2 separate regions of the Homo sapiens genome follow, and region 2 is linked to region 1. Evidence: promoter capture Hi-C in human tissues and cell types (Jung and others, 2019). All regions are on one chromosome and are shown on one strand. The core of a region is centred on a gene start or on the middle of the fragment in contact, and the rest is flanking DNA. Distances in the headings are between cores, read along the strand shown. Region 1 holds the start of SMAD9 (SMAD family member 9). Region 2 overlaps SPART (spartin).

The links. Contacts are between HindIII fragments. The study calls those that stand out against the background at their distance.
Region 2: a fragment that was not itself captured here is called in contact with the fragment with the promoter of SMAD9 in region 1 in 1 of the 25 tissues and cell types used here (dorsolateral prefrontal cortex).

The regions. Positions count from the first base shown.
Region 1 is chr13:36,917,306-36,923,366 of GRCh38, reverse strand. It overlaps SMAD9 (SMAD family member 9), which reads left to right and starts at 3,129. Exons shown (of 7, transcript NM_001127217.3): 1 at 3,129-3,251. It also overlaps the pseudogene LAMTOR3P1. RefSeq lists silencers at 2,989-3,038, 3,149-3,218. The HindIII fragment of the contact is 20,741 bases long and covers 1-6,061 here.
Region 2 is chr13:36,327,147-36,333,569 of GRCh38, reverse strand. It overlaps SPART (spartin), which reads left to right. Exons shown (of 9, transcript NM_015087.5): 3 at 1,974-2,171; 4 at 4,053-4,208. Among named protein-coding and RNA genes, the nearest start is that of SPART, 16 kb to the left of the region's middle. The HindIII fragment of the contact is 8,496 bases long and covers 1-6,423 here.

The sequences.
Region 1 (6,061 bases), core at 1,880-4,379:
GTTCCTCACACTCAATGAGAAGAAATAAAACATAATCTGAAGAAAAATATCTCATTATTATTCGCAATAAAAAATCTGCTTCATTCTGCAGGCCTGGGCAGATTGTACAATAGAGAGCACTTAATGGCTCAAATGGATCAATGTACCAGTTTGATTCTGATCCACGGAATAGAATCTCATCCATATTTGGTGGCTGGACTAACTCCATGGGTGCTGTGACAGACTGAACTATTTTTGTGGTATCCCCAGATCTCACTAAATAAGAAAAGACCCTACACCAGAAAATATAACAATCAATCCGTCCATAAATTTTATCTATATGCTTGCTCTTCAGTATAAGTTGGAAAAAGAGGCCCTTTCTTGAGGACATGGATAAAAGTATTATGGTCTAAAGATTGCTGGATCGATATTGTGTTGTTATAATAAAGATAAGGTACACATTGAAACCACTGTCTGATTAAGAAACTTCCACAACTTGTCTCAATTCTTCAAATAATGGAGTAAGTTTCTTTTCTAGGCTGACAATTAGTTCTGTATTGGCATTGCTGCTGGCTATGAAACTCACCACCAAAGGTAAATGATTTAACTGAATCACCAGGTAGGTGTAACAGTAACAGATGATACTTTTATTTTTTGAAAGTCCAAGTTTGCTCCCGTGGTCTGTTGCAAGGGCAAAAGTAGGTAAGAAACCAGGTCTCAAAGCATGCTCTGGAGCATTATCAATGGCCACTTTAATAACAGGTACTCCAACTCTGACACAACAATAGCATGGAGCCCTTCAACACTTTGTAACATTTGATACATGAATCGCTTTAGGTCATCCGCCATGATGAACCCCCTTCTCTTGCAGGATCAATCTCCTTGCCTGGGGTTTCTGGGCTGCCCGGTTCTCTCCACTGTCACTTCAGGAACAGCTTCAAAGACCACAGTCTGGTTTTATGCTGGGTATATGGCAAATGCAAAGAATTGGCTCTCTCTTGGGGTAAGGAAGCTGCCCTTCCTACCACTGTTTTATAGCCTGAGGGAGTTCGTGTTAGGCCAAGACCTTATCATCTTTCAGAAAACAGATTTCAGTTTTGCCGTGGTTTTGAGGTCCTGAACCAAAATTTCACTGGCGGTTCTACCAAATCACAACCTCTGAGTCTCTCCTTTCATATGATTCCCATAACAGAATGTTTTGGTGGAAGTTCTATTAAGCAGTAAAACCACAGCCAATCAAGAAATCACTGGGAAAGATAAAGCGAAGTCTAGCTTTCCATTAACCAGGACAGTCAGCTTCTGTAAAATGGAGTGTCAACACTGCGCCTTCTGTCTTAGGCCAAGCATTTTCTCCTTCTTGGAACTCACCAGATCTTATTGTTCTTGAGCGTAATGGATTAACTTTCTATACTAGCCTTGAGGAATACATGATAGGAATTATATCAGTGACAGACTAATGTTTAGGCAGGAAAAAGTCATCATCGTGCAGAAATATCCTGGTATGTAAATGAGAACGTACAGAAAAGAGCAGACTAGACATACTCTAAATCAAAGGCCTGCCAAGAGTCAAGAGAATTCTGCGAACTGAGAAAGACTCCATGCCAGAAGCATGAGCCAGCGCTGCAGAGGTTATAATTTCTTTCTCTGCATCTTGTCCTCTGCATTATGCTCATATACGAGAAGGAAACTGAGATAGTGATTGGGCCATTTCTTTTCTTAATTTAATTTTTAAAAACTTGAGCCACAAGGTATCAATTCTGAGGACCTAATTAGTTTACTGGCAATAAAGTCCACATCCAGCCTAATCCTTAATATATAATCTGTAGCCCTTACCGGTCCCGCTGTTTCCTGGTGTTTCTCACCCAGGACAATCTCAAACCCAACACATAGCCGGGTGCAGAGGTATCTGGGCCAGTGTAGAAAGAAGACTTTGAGGTTAAGGCATGGTATTTAAGGTTCTGCTGCAAATGTTGTTTTAAACAAATCACCGTTCAACTACAACGGTATAATAATGCAAAAATAGCATCTGCCATGAAGAAAGTGCAGTGCTTTGAGAACTAGAAAAAGCAGTTAAATTTAAGGCCTTGCTTTACATTTCGGAGCCGCCATCGGGGCCAACTGGAGGTATGACTTTCCTGCACACAGGAGCAAGCTGAAAACTGCCCTGTGGCTTTATTCCACGTTCACCCCTGCAGCAAATGCCTTTTCTGTGAGGAACTACGGGCTGATGGGGAATCAGAGGTGGTTCTTCCTAAGTGGCGTTTCTGAGTGGGTTCCAGGAGTCCACAGTGACTTTAAGAGGCAGGCTACCTGGGGGACAGCCAGGCCGTGAGACGAGAAAGTTGTACAGTAACATTGCTGTGTGCCCATAAGTTTGTATCTTTTATTAGATTAGATAATATATCTCACATGCTGGGTTGTTAAGCAAATAAATATGTGTAAGGAAATTACAATCCACATAATTACATGAGTCGTTTTAACCACCACTCACCCCCAGAGTGATTAGATTTTCTTCTGCCTATGCCATTGCGGCCCAGTTGCTCTGTCACTGTCCATGGGGACAGGATCCCCTTACTCCGAAAAGCAAATCAGGAACAAACAGGGCAAGTGAGAGTCACTATCAGGGCCCAGAAACATGTGAGGAACAGCAGCTCAGAAGGGTCTCCAGACTGATGGGCCGGTGATCCTATATTCTTGTTGGGCTGACAACTCTTCTGGTTTCGGGCTCCAGGTGCTGGCAAGAAATCTCAGAGGTGGGGTGGGAGAGAGAGACGCGAGGCGACCCACGCAGACAAAGGGCTCCCACCCCACCCCCGGGCCACCCCGGCAGGCCGGGCAGGGGCCGAGCCTGGGGTCGCGCAGGGGGACCGAGAGGGCAGCGCGGGGCTGGGGGTGGGGAAGAGGCGGGAACCGAGCCGCAGGCCGCTGCGAGGAGTACTACCCCGCCACCCCCGCGCCGCGAGTTTCCGCGCACGTGGCCGTGGGGCCGGTCTCGCTCCCGCCCCCCGCCGGGCCCGCGCAGCCCCCTCCTCTGCGGCTCCCGGAGCGGCCAGAGCGCGCGGCGGCGGGCGGGGGCGGGCCGCAAGCAGGGCTCCCTGGCCGCTTTCCAGGTCGGCGCACTAATACGGGCGATGAGGCTTCGCGGCTCCAGTCTGACTGACGCCGGCTGGGGCCGCCGCCGCCGCCGCCGCCGCCGCCGCTGCTGCAGCCGCTGTCTCGGTCCCCGCCGCCGCCGCCGGGCCCTGCAGGCGCTGGGCGCGCGCAGCCAGGCAGTGAGTGCGCGGCGCTCGGAGCGGGCGGCCGGGGGACCACGGCGGGGGCGGGGTTGGGGGCGCCGGACCTGGGTGGGGGAGGGATGAGTGGCACGGCGGGGACAGGTAAGACGTGCCCTCCTCGGCCGCGCGCTGCTTGTGTGCGTGCGTGTGAGCGCATTGAGTGGAGGGCGAAGTTGTTCGTCCTCGGGGCAGCCTGGGAGGCTCCTCGGCGTGAGGCTTGGCTTTTGGCGGTCGTTGTTCCCGGGTTTTTTGGTGGAGCCTGTCTGGGGTGGAGTGGGGTGGGGTGGGGTGGGCGCGGGGCCGGAGGGGACTGCTCTGGGGAGTTGGCCGCGGCGCAGCTCGCCTTCCTCGCGCCTGCATCCGCCCGCGCCGCGGGCCCCGGGACCTGTCAGGGGATGTTCGACCCGCGGCGGGGGCGGCGGTCGGGTCGGGGCTGGGGCCCGGGGCGTGGGCAGGGACCAGGATAGGCGCCTGAGGGGTCGCTTGCTGTAGCTGGAGATAGGGGACAGCGGACAGAGGGGGCGGCGGGGGTCGTCATTGTGACTCTTTGGGGGCCACTTTTAAACTCGCCAGCGCCGAATTGGCCTCACTTGCCTTCTGTTTCGTAGGCTTTTTGCTTTGTTTACCTTTGAGGCATGCGAACTGAGAAAAAAAGTTAGGAATGTTGTTGAAGTGTCTCCGGGCTCGCGCTTGGACTGTGTCGGAGCCGGGGTGTTTGTCTTTTCCTTGGCCCGCCCCTCGGTGCCAGCTCTCCGCAGAGGGGAGGGGGCGAGGTGGGAAGCAGATACAGGAGACTGCCTGACGCCAGCTTTGTGATCGGAAGGAGGAGCGCTGGGAGAACATTTTTATGGATGGCTAATCGCTGACAAGTTTTCCCGTTACTATTCCTTCCTCCTCCTGCCCTTGACCGTGGACATTTGAAGTGATAGTTTGGAAATACTACGTTGACTTATTTCTGGGCTGGAGTGGGTACTCCTGAGAACTAACCTACAAAGGATACAAATCGAGTTTGGAGATAAAATTGTATGTAAATTCTTTACCCAGTAGTTTACAGTGAGAAACACACCCACAGGGCACTGTGGAGTGCTTTGGATGGATCCAGTTTACTAGTACCATTTCGGTGGCTTGCCAGATTTCTCGGATGATCTTTTGGAAATGTAGGTTAGCAAGAAGCATGGAGGCTGACCGTTAAGTCGTGAGGCATTTAATAATGCTGCCTCCTAAGCAGTAACTGAGCGGAACGTTTGTGGCACCCGTCTGGGAAAGTGAAATGTGACTACTACAAGCATGTCTCCTGCCTTAGCATTCCTCCAAGTGTGAGGGAATGCCTTTGGATGTTTACATTTTAAAAATAGTGATCTATATTTAAGAAGGCATTTAAAATAAAAGCCAAAGACATTCTCAACTCCAAATAGACAAAGATTCAATATAAGAGTTTCCCTGTGCTTGTAGGAAAGCATCAGCACAATTTTAGACTGCTTTTAGGTTTGTGGTTATCCAAGAAGGAGGCTTCAGATAAGAAAAGGATGTGACGCTTTATAAATAAGGAGCATTTTAAATACAAGATGACAGCAATTTCAAGTACTGTATCCGAAAAACAACTTTTAGTGGTAATAGTCACCTTCAGTGATGGCAAGACAGCTGTCTGCCAGACAGCCTTCGGCCTCTTAATGTATTCTGACACAACCAACTCCCATTTTTATGCTTGACTGGTTATCTTTGTCAGAGCTGTTTTATGCTTGAGCTCTCTGGTTTCAAACTATGCTTAAGAGAATGCCAACATACTCTTGATCTGAACAAACTCATGTTTATCAGTGCAGTGTTTACTAAAAATCAAAGACGTAAACAAATTTTGGGTTAAACCTCTAAGTACTTTAGAATTGCCACATCATTGTCATCAGTCTTTCAAAGTCAACATGAACTATTTGGCTTTTCTCCTTTAAAAAATTTTTTTAACTTATATATTCCTAGTTAGTAAGTAATCAGAAAATATTCACAGATGTCAACTCTTGCATCTGTGATTGCCCAAGACATGGATGAGAAAGAAGAGTTTTGTTTTGTTTTTTAAATGAAACATTACTAAAGATATCCATAAGTAATAAACAAGTGGTACACTATCTTTACTAATCATGTGGTCAGTTGGAGGGAAAAAAGTCTGTCCAGAAATTGTTTCATAAAGATGAAAATATTCAATGTCAATATGAAAATACTCAATATGTTTTCCAAATAGTTTAATTCTGATTAATGAGAGTGCACTATGCATTGCCAAACTGGAGGGATGGTGTTTCGTAAGTGAGCACCGTAGGATTAAGGTAACTACTTTATATCTGACATTCCCTCTGTAATAAATAGGACAGCAGTTTCATCATGTTCTGCTTTAATATGTGGGAAATAATCCTTATCCACAGGATGTACTCTGATTTTAGGGAAGGTAAAGGTTATGACAAATATGTGGTTTTTCTGATTTGCCAGACATACTATGCTAAATTTTAAAGCTTTAACGAAGCTTAGTGCAGACTTTCTGTATATTGTTTTGGACACTTAGAGAGGAGTTAAAGAAACGGGAAACTGTCCAGAATGAAACAGTAAATATAGCAGTACGTTGAAACCATGAATCTTCTCAAATAGTTGTAATTCTAGGCTGTTGGATTTATATTTCCTTGGTTACTGTTGCTAGTGGGTTGAAAAGTTATTCTAAAGCAAAAAAAAAAAATGCAAACAGTAAATGCATAAGTACTTAACAATACTGTGAGCATTTTCACAATGTTTCATGTTATCCTGGTGAATGTCCATGTCCTAAGTAAGGA
Region 2 (6,423 bases), core at 1,178-3,677, 590 kb after region 1:
TAAAATTGCACCCAAAATTTAATTTGAGTCTCTTTAAGAGGTTCTCATTTGCTTGTATTCAGGTATTTGTAGCAGAGTGTCCTTAAAAGGAGTTAACATATGTGTTTACTGAATGTTTTTATCCAAAAAAAAAAAAAAAATACAATAATAATCCAACTAAATACTAGAAGTTAGATATTTCCTGTGCTAAAAATCACTGTTAAAATCACTATTGGTCTAAATAGGAAATTAAGTTTTTTTGGTTTTAGGTAGATAGAATTCTGGAACTTCAAAAAAAGATTTTTCTTTTGGTTTTAGTTTTAATACCAAATACTTTTTAAACCTGTTAAATCTATAATTACAGAAATTGGACATGAGATTGCCCTCTGAAAATGAAACTGGGAAAAATCAGCCTATGGTGGATGACTCACTTATCTGTAATATCCTGTCCTAGGAAAGGTCTATAAAGTGTTGGTTTTTTTAAAGACAATTTGGTGATATTGCAGTTCAATTAAGGTGACCAGGATATAGATAATCTGAAAGAAACCATGGAATAGTTTAAAAAAAAGAAAAAAAAAAGAAAAACCTTTCCTAAGTTTTATTTTAGAATAACTTTTACAATTTTTTTGTCAACTCTATACCACTGCTATTACTTGCTTTATATTTTTACTAAATTGTCCCACTTGTCAGTTTTATCTTAATAATAACTGAAATTAAGGGAAATATGTATTTTTCTCATACATATTAAAATAAATAACTACTCAAATGTTAAAAGTTTGTGGGTAAGACTGTTTTGATGTTGAGCACAGTTATATTTTGGTTTCTCAAAGAATGTATTGCATTAGAAATAAATTAGGCAGCCAGGATGTGAGCTTATGTCTGTGTATGTACTGGCAAGCCGACCTCCGCAGATGACATTGCAGGAGAGCTTTTGTTATTTTGCTTTTAATTTCACAATAGATAGATAATCCATAAACATTAACTTAATCTATTCTGTTATGTCAGGTTCTCTTGGGTTTAGTACAAAAAATTATTCCATGTTGTGAGTGAGTGCTGAATTTCTTATTTATTCATTTATTTTTTCTTTGAGACAGAGTCTTGCTGTGTTGCCCAGGCTGGAGTGCAGTGGCACAATCTTGGCTCACTGCAACTTCCACCTCCCAGGTTCAGGTGATTCCCCTGCCTCAGCCTCCCAAGGAGCTGGAGCTAGGATTACAGGCATGCACTACCACCCCCAGCTAATTTTTGTAGTTTTAGTAGAGATGGGGGTTTCACCATGTTGTCCAGGCAGGTCTTGAACTCCTGACCTCAAATAATCCCCCCACCTCTCCTTGGCCTCCCAGAGTGTTGGGATTATAGGTGTGAGCCACTGTGCCCGGCCTGTGAGTGCTGGGTTTCTAATTAAAATACTTGTTCAGCTTCTCTGGTCCAGACTATATGTGTTAAAATCCAAGCTCCACTTTTTAGTTGTTGGTTCTGGGCGACTTAATTGACCTCTCTGTGCCTCAATTTTCTTGTACATAAAATGACAATAATAGTAACTGATTTCATAGGATTGTTAGGAGGATTAAATCAGTAAATACTATTATTTCAGTAAATATTTCAAGTAAATAATATCTGAAAATAGTTTATTTACCACAAAAGGAATATCTGATTTCAATAACGAAAACCTTAATTTACTTTGATTATTATTTATTTAAAGCTGGAGTCATTATTGGTTAACACTAGGCTAGTTAAGGCCATCAGCTTTAAGATTGTATAATTAGTGGAGCCATGGCACATTTAGCACAGTCCTTATTGCAGAAAGATCAGACTAGCAAATGATTAATTTTCTTGGGGATTTGTTGATGTTGATGTTTCTTAAAGCCTTTTAAAATATGTTTCCAACTTTGAAGTGTTTATTTTCTAGTATAACAATTTTATTAAAACATAAATGAAAATCTAGTTTCATTTATTTATATGTATATTTTTTTTCTTCTAATGAATCCTTTCAGGTTTGTGACTGGTTATATCCTCTAGTTCCTGATAGATCTCCGGTTCTGAAATGTACTGCGGGAGCCTACATGTTTCCTGATACAATGCTACAAGCAGCAGGATGCTTTGTGGGGGTCGTCCTGTCCTCTGAGTTACCAGAGGATGATAGAGAGCTCTTTGAGGATCTGTTAAGGCAAATGTCTGACCTTCGGCTCCAGGTAACTTGTGTGATCATCTTTAGGGTGAAAAAAATCTACTTTAACATAAGCACTTCAGCTTTTAGAGAAATTGTAATAACCTCTACTGTAATCAAGGTTAGGAGACTGACAGTTCACCATTTGTTTGTGTGTTCACAACTACATGCTTGGAATTTGCTGTAATAGTGGTTAAGATTGTGAGCTCTAGAGTCAAATTGCCTGTATATGAATTCAAACTCTTCCACTTAATGACCGTTTAGCTCAGCTGTTCCTGATCTTCTCTATACTTTAATTTACTTATAAAATGGGGATAATAACAGTGTCCACTTCATTGGGCTGTGGTGAAAATTAAAAATTAATACATTAAGCACTTATATCAGAACGAGTAGTTATGCTCTGTGAATGTTAGCTATTGTTTTCACCACTGTTTTATTGCTCAGCTGGAAAAGTGTACTAATGGGTCTAAATGGTGACATGAAGATAATTTTAGCTTTAGTAGATAGGTTATGTTGGACATTTTAAGGGGTATGGTTGGCATTCTGAGGAAGAAACAGGCTTTGGTTGAGATAATTATCTTTGTTCTTGTGGTAAATGAAGGCCAAATAAAAAAATAAAAAGAAAATATGATTTAAAATATGATCATCCTGGAACTTTCCTTATTTGGCATGTTTCCTCTGCCCACATGCGTACCTGTAGAAATAGAGTATTTCTGTTTAACAGGGAACTTGAATAGAGTATTATGGAGAGACTTTCTTTATATATTGTTGTAGCAAGAGGGAAAAAGTATTTTTGATTATGAATATTGACAGTCATCAGGGGTTGAATGAGGTGGGCATTATAATAGTATAATCTTTTATTCTCTCCTTCAATCAGCAGATACTTGGAATTCATTATTTAACCAGTTACTGTGTTAAGTGATGGGATGGGCAAAGTATGAGAACAGGAGACCACGAAGGTGTGGGGGATGTGTGTGTGTGTGTGTGTGTGTGTATGAAAATATAAAATCAGCCCCTGTTCACCCGAGAATGACCTACCTGGTGGTCAACAAACCAATACTTTAGCATAGCAGCAATTATTTAACAAAATACATGATCAGCATACAGAAGTGTGTAGCCTCATTGTACTTGTGAGGAGGAATTCACAAAGGCAGGAATATGGTCAAATGAAGGAGTTCATCTTCACTTCACTGTTTACTGAGTGAAATGATGCTCTTAAGTATTCACAGACCTAATGTGGAACTATTTCTCCCTTCACCCCTACGTTAACTGGACCTGTATTACTGGGCTTTAGGAAAGAAACTAAGCAGACTTTTAGGTTGTATGTTTATTTTCTGTCTTCAATTTAATTTTTTGGTATTTGTATGTTATTTTTAGCTTGCTTTACTGTCCCAGAACTTCAACTGTAAACATAAGCTAGTTACTAGCTATAATTTTGACTGGTTTTTACTCTTAAGCATTCATTCAGCAAAGTGTATATTGTGCAGAAAATTAAAAAATAAACCTTCCAATAATGCATAATGAAATGGACATGAGTTTTGTTAATTGCCTTTAAATTCACTTTCTCTTGTACATGTTAACTAAAATTTATTCATTAATTAAATTTAAATGTAGCTGCATCTGATTCAAAGATAACTTATACCAACAACTGCTATAAGTTGTCTTTTACACGTTGTCTTTTGAAACTTACTTAGGCATATGCTATGAACCAAAGAACTCAGAGGTTTGGGGTTTGGTGATGAAACAAAAGAGAATCGTAGAGAAAAAAGCAAAAGTAGTTGTTACTGATAGACTGCCAAACTGACATTCAAACAAGTATGTCATTTGAGCATGGTGTAATATAGCTGGCAGAAAGCCATCTAAGAAAAATTCTGATTAGAGTTAAGCTTAAACCTTTATTCTCTAGGCCAACTGGAACAGAGCAGAAGAAGAAAATGAATTCCAAATCCCTGGAAGAACTAGACCCTCCTCTGACCAACTAAAAGAAGCCTCTGGCACTGATGTGAAACAGTTGGACCAAGGCAATAAGGATGTACGTCATAAAGGAAAACGTGGAAAAAGGGTAAATAAAAGAGTAATAAGTGTGTGTGTTGTCTTCTAATGGTACCTTTCTCCAGTTTCATGTATTTATATGATCATATTCCCATATACTAAAGCAAAGCAACTTGTGCATTAGTCAACAAAGTGATCACTGGCAAAAACAATTAGAATCAGTTGTAGTATTTCCCTTTTAAAGTGTGTGTTACTTAAACTATTTTAAAAGATACTCTGTGTTTGGGGGATAGATTTTTTTCCCAACTGTTTGAGAGATTTTATTTTTTTTGAGACAGGATCCTGCCTTGTCACCCAGGCTGGAGTGCAGTGGTGCAAACATGGCTCACTGCAGCCTTGACCTCCCAGGCTCATGTGATCCTCCTGCCTCACGCTCCACGAGTAGCCAGCATTACAGACATGAGCCACCATACCTGGCCAAGATATTTTTATATTTGCATTAGTGATGCACATACTTTCTTATTTGTTTTGTGTTATTCTCTGCCTTCCTATATTCACTAAGAGCTTGGGGGCTAGATATGCTACTGTCTTTTTTTTTCTTACACTGCCATTTTTATTCAGTTTCCTGTTTTTTTATGGATGGGCAACAGGACAGAGATTTGATTTAAAAAAATATACTGAGTGGTTTCTTCTTTCATTTCATAGGCTCTGAGTATGTAATATATTCTAACTGGTAAATTTGGATTAGAGTTCAGGAAATATTTATTGAGAGCTAGAATGTTAGGTCTACATAGTGGAAAAAGTTTAAATTTCTTGTCTCAATGAATTTACTGTCTAATGGAAAGAACAGATTAGCAAAGAGATCATTTCTATCCAATGTGGCTATTAGATAGAAGATGCAGCCTAGCCTAACAGATAAGTGTGGGTGGATGAGTGGTATGGGAAGCAGTGAGGAGCCCCCTCCTACAGGACATTATAACTAAAATGAGTCTTGAAGGATAAAGAAGAGTTGGCCTTATGAATAGCAAATTTAAGGGGATTCTAGGCAGAAGTGGTAATATAAGCAAGTATATGAATAAAACAGCATTGTCTTGAGTATCATAGGCAGTTTAGTATTGTTCATTGCTATATTCCACATGGTAAATGCTCAATAATTATCTTTGGAATTGATGAATATCACGTGAATATTCTACATTTATTTGCAAAGTGTCACTGTGGTTTATGTTGAACATCTTAGACCAGCTATATGAGGATACTGGAAGTCCAAAATGGTTCCAAGATATATATTTTACTTAAAAATGTTGTTTTAAAATTAATCACAAGAAACCAAAGTTGAAGGGTACAAAAGAGTATATGGTAAAAAATAAGTCTGGGCCCTATTCCTGTCCACATAATTATGTGTCCAGACACATAATCTTCCCCTGTCTCCTCACCCCTGCAGATGGAGTCTCACTCTGTCGCCCAGGCTGGAGTGCAGTGGTGCGATCTCAGCTGACTGCAACCTCCGCCTCCCGGGTTCAAGCAATTCTCGTGTCTCAACCTCCCGAGCAGCTGGGATTACAGGTGCCTGCCACCATGCCCGGCTAATGTTTGTATTTTTAGTAGAGATGGGGTTTCAGTTTCACCATGTTGGCCAGGCTAATCTCGAACTCCTGACTTCAGGTGATCCACCCACCTTGGCCTCCCAAAGTGCTGGGATTACAGGCATGAGCCAGCATGCCTGCCCTCAGACACATAATTATTAACTTCTGTTGTCCTTCTAGATATATTTTATGCGTAGTTAAATACACACACACAGAGACATATATAATATTTAACATAAATGGTGGCATGTAAAACATAATGTTTTGTTCCTTGCTTTTTTACTTAACAGTATATTTGGAAATTCTTCCATATCATTTAGAACTTTGTGTTTTAAAATTTAATTTCTTGTTCTAAAAAAATCAAATGATATTAAAAAGTATATGCAGTGAAAAGCTTTAGATTTTACTTATGGGTGACTTTTATCCCATGTAGAAGTTGTTTTGTTTAATGTTGTTTTTATATTTTATGTGACATTCTTTGTGTTACTGGCCACTTTGATTTTCAAGTTATTTTATTATATTAATACTATGAGGTCTGAGTTAGCCTGCATCTTATTTCTTAGAATGAGTTCATTTAGCTTTAAGAGTTTGGGTGTTGGCCCAGGCTCTCATCACAGCTGTTCAGTTAGCAAAGTATAGATATATGTTCTCCATTTCCTCTTAAATGGAATAGCAGATTATTCTGTGTTTATATATTCCTTC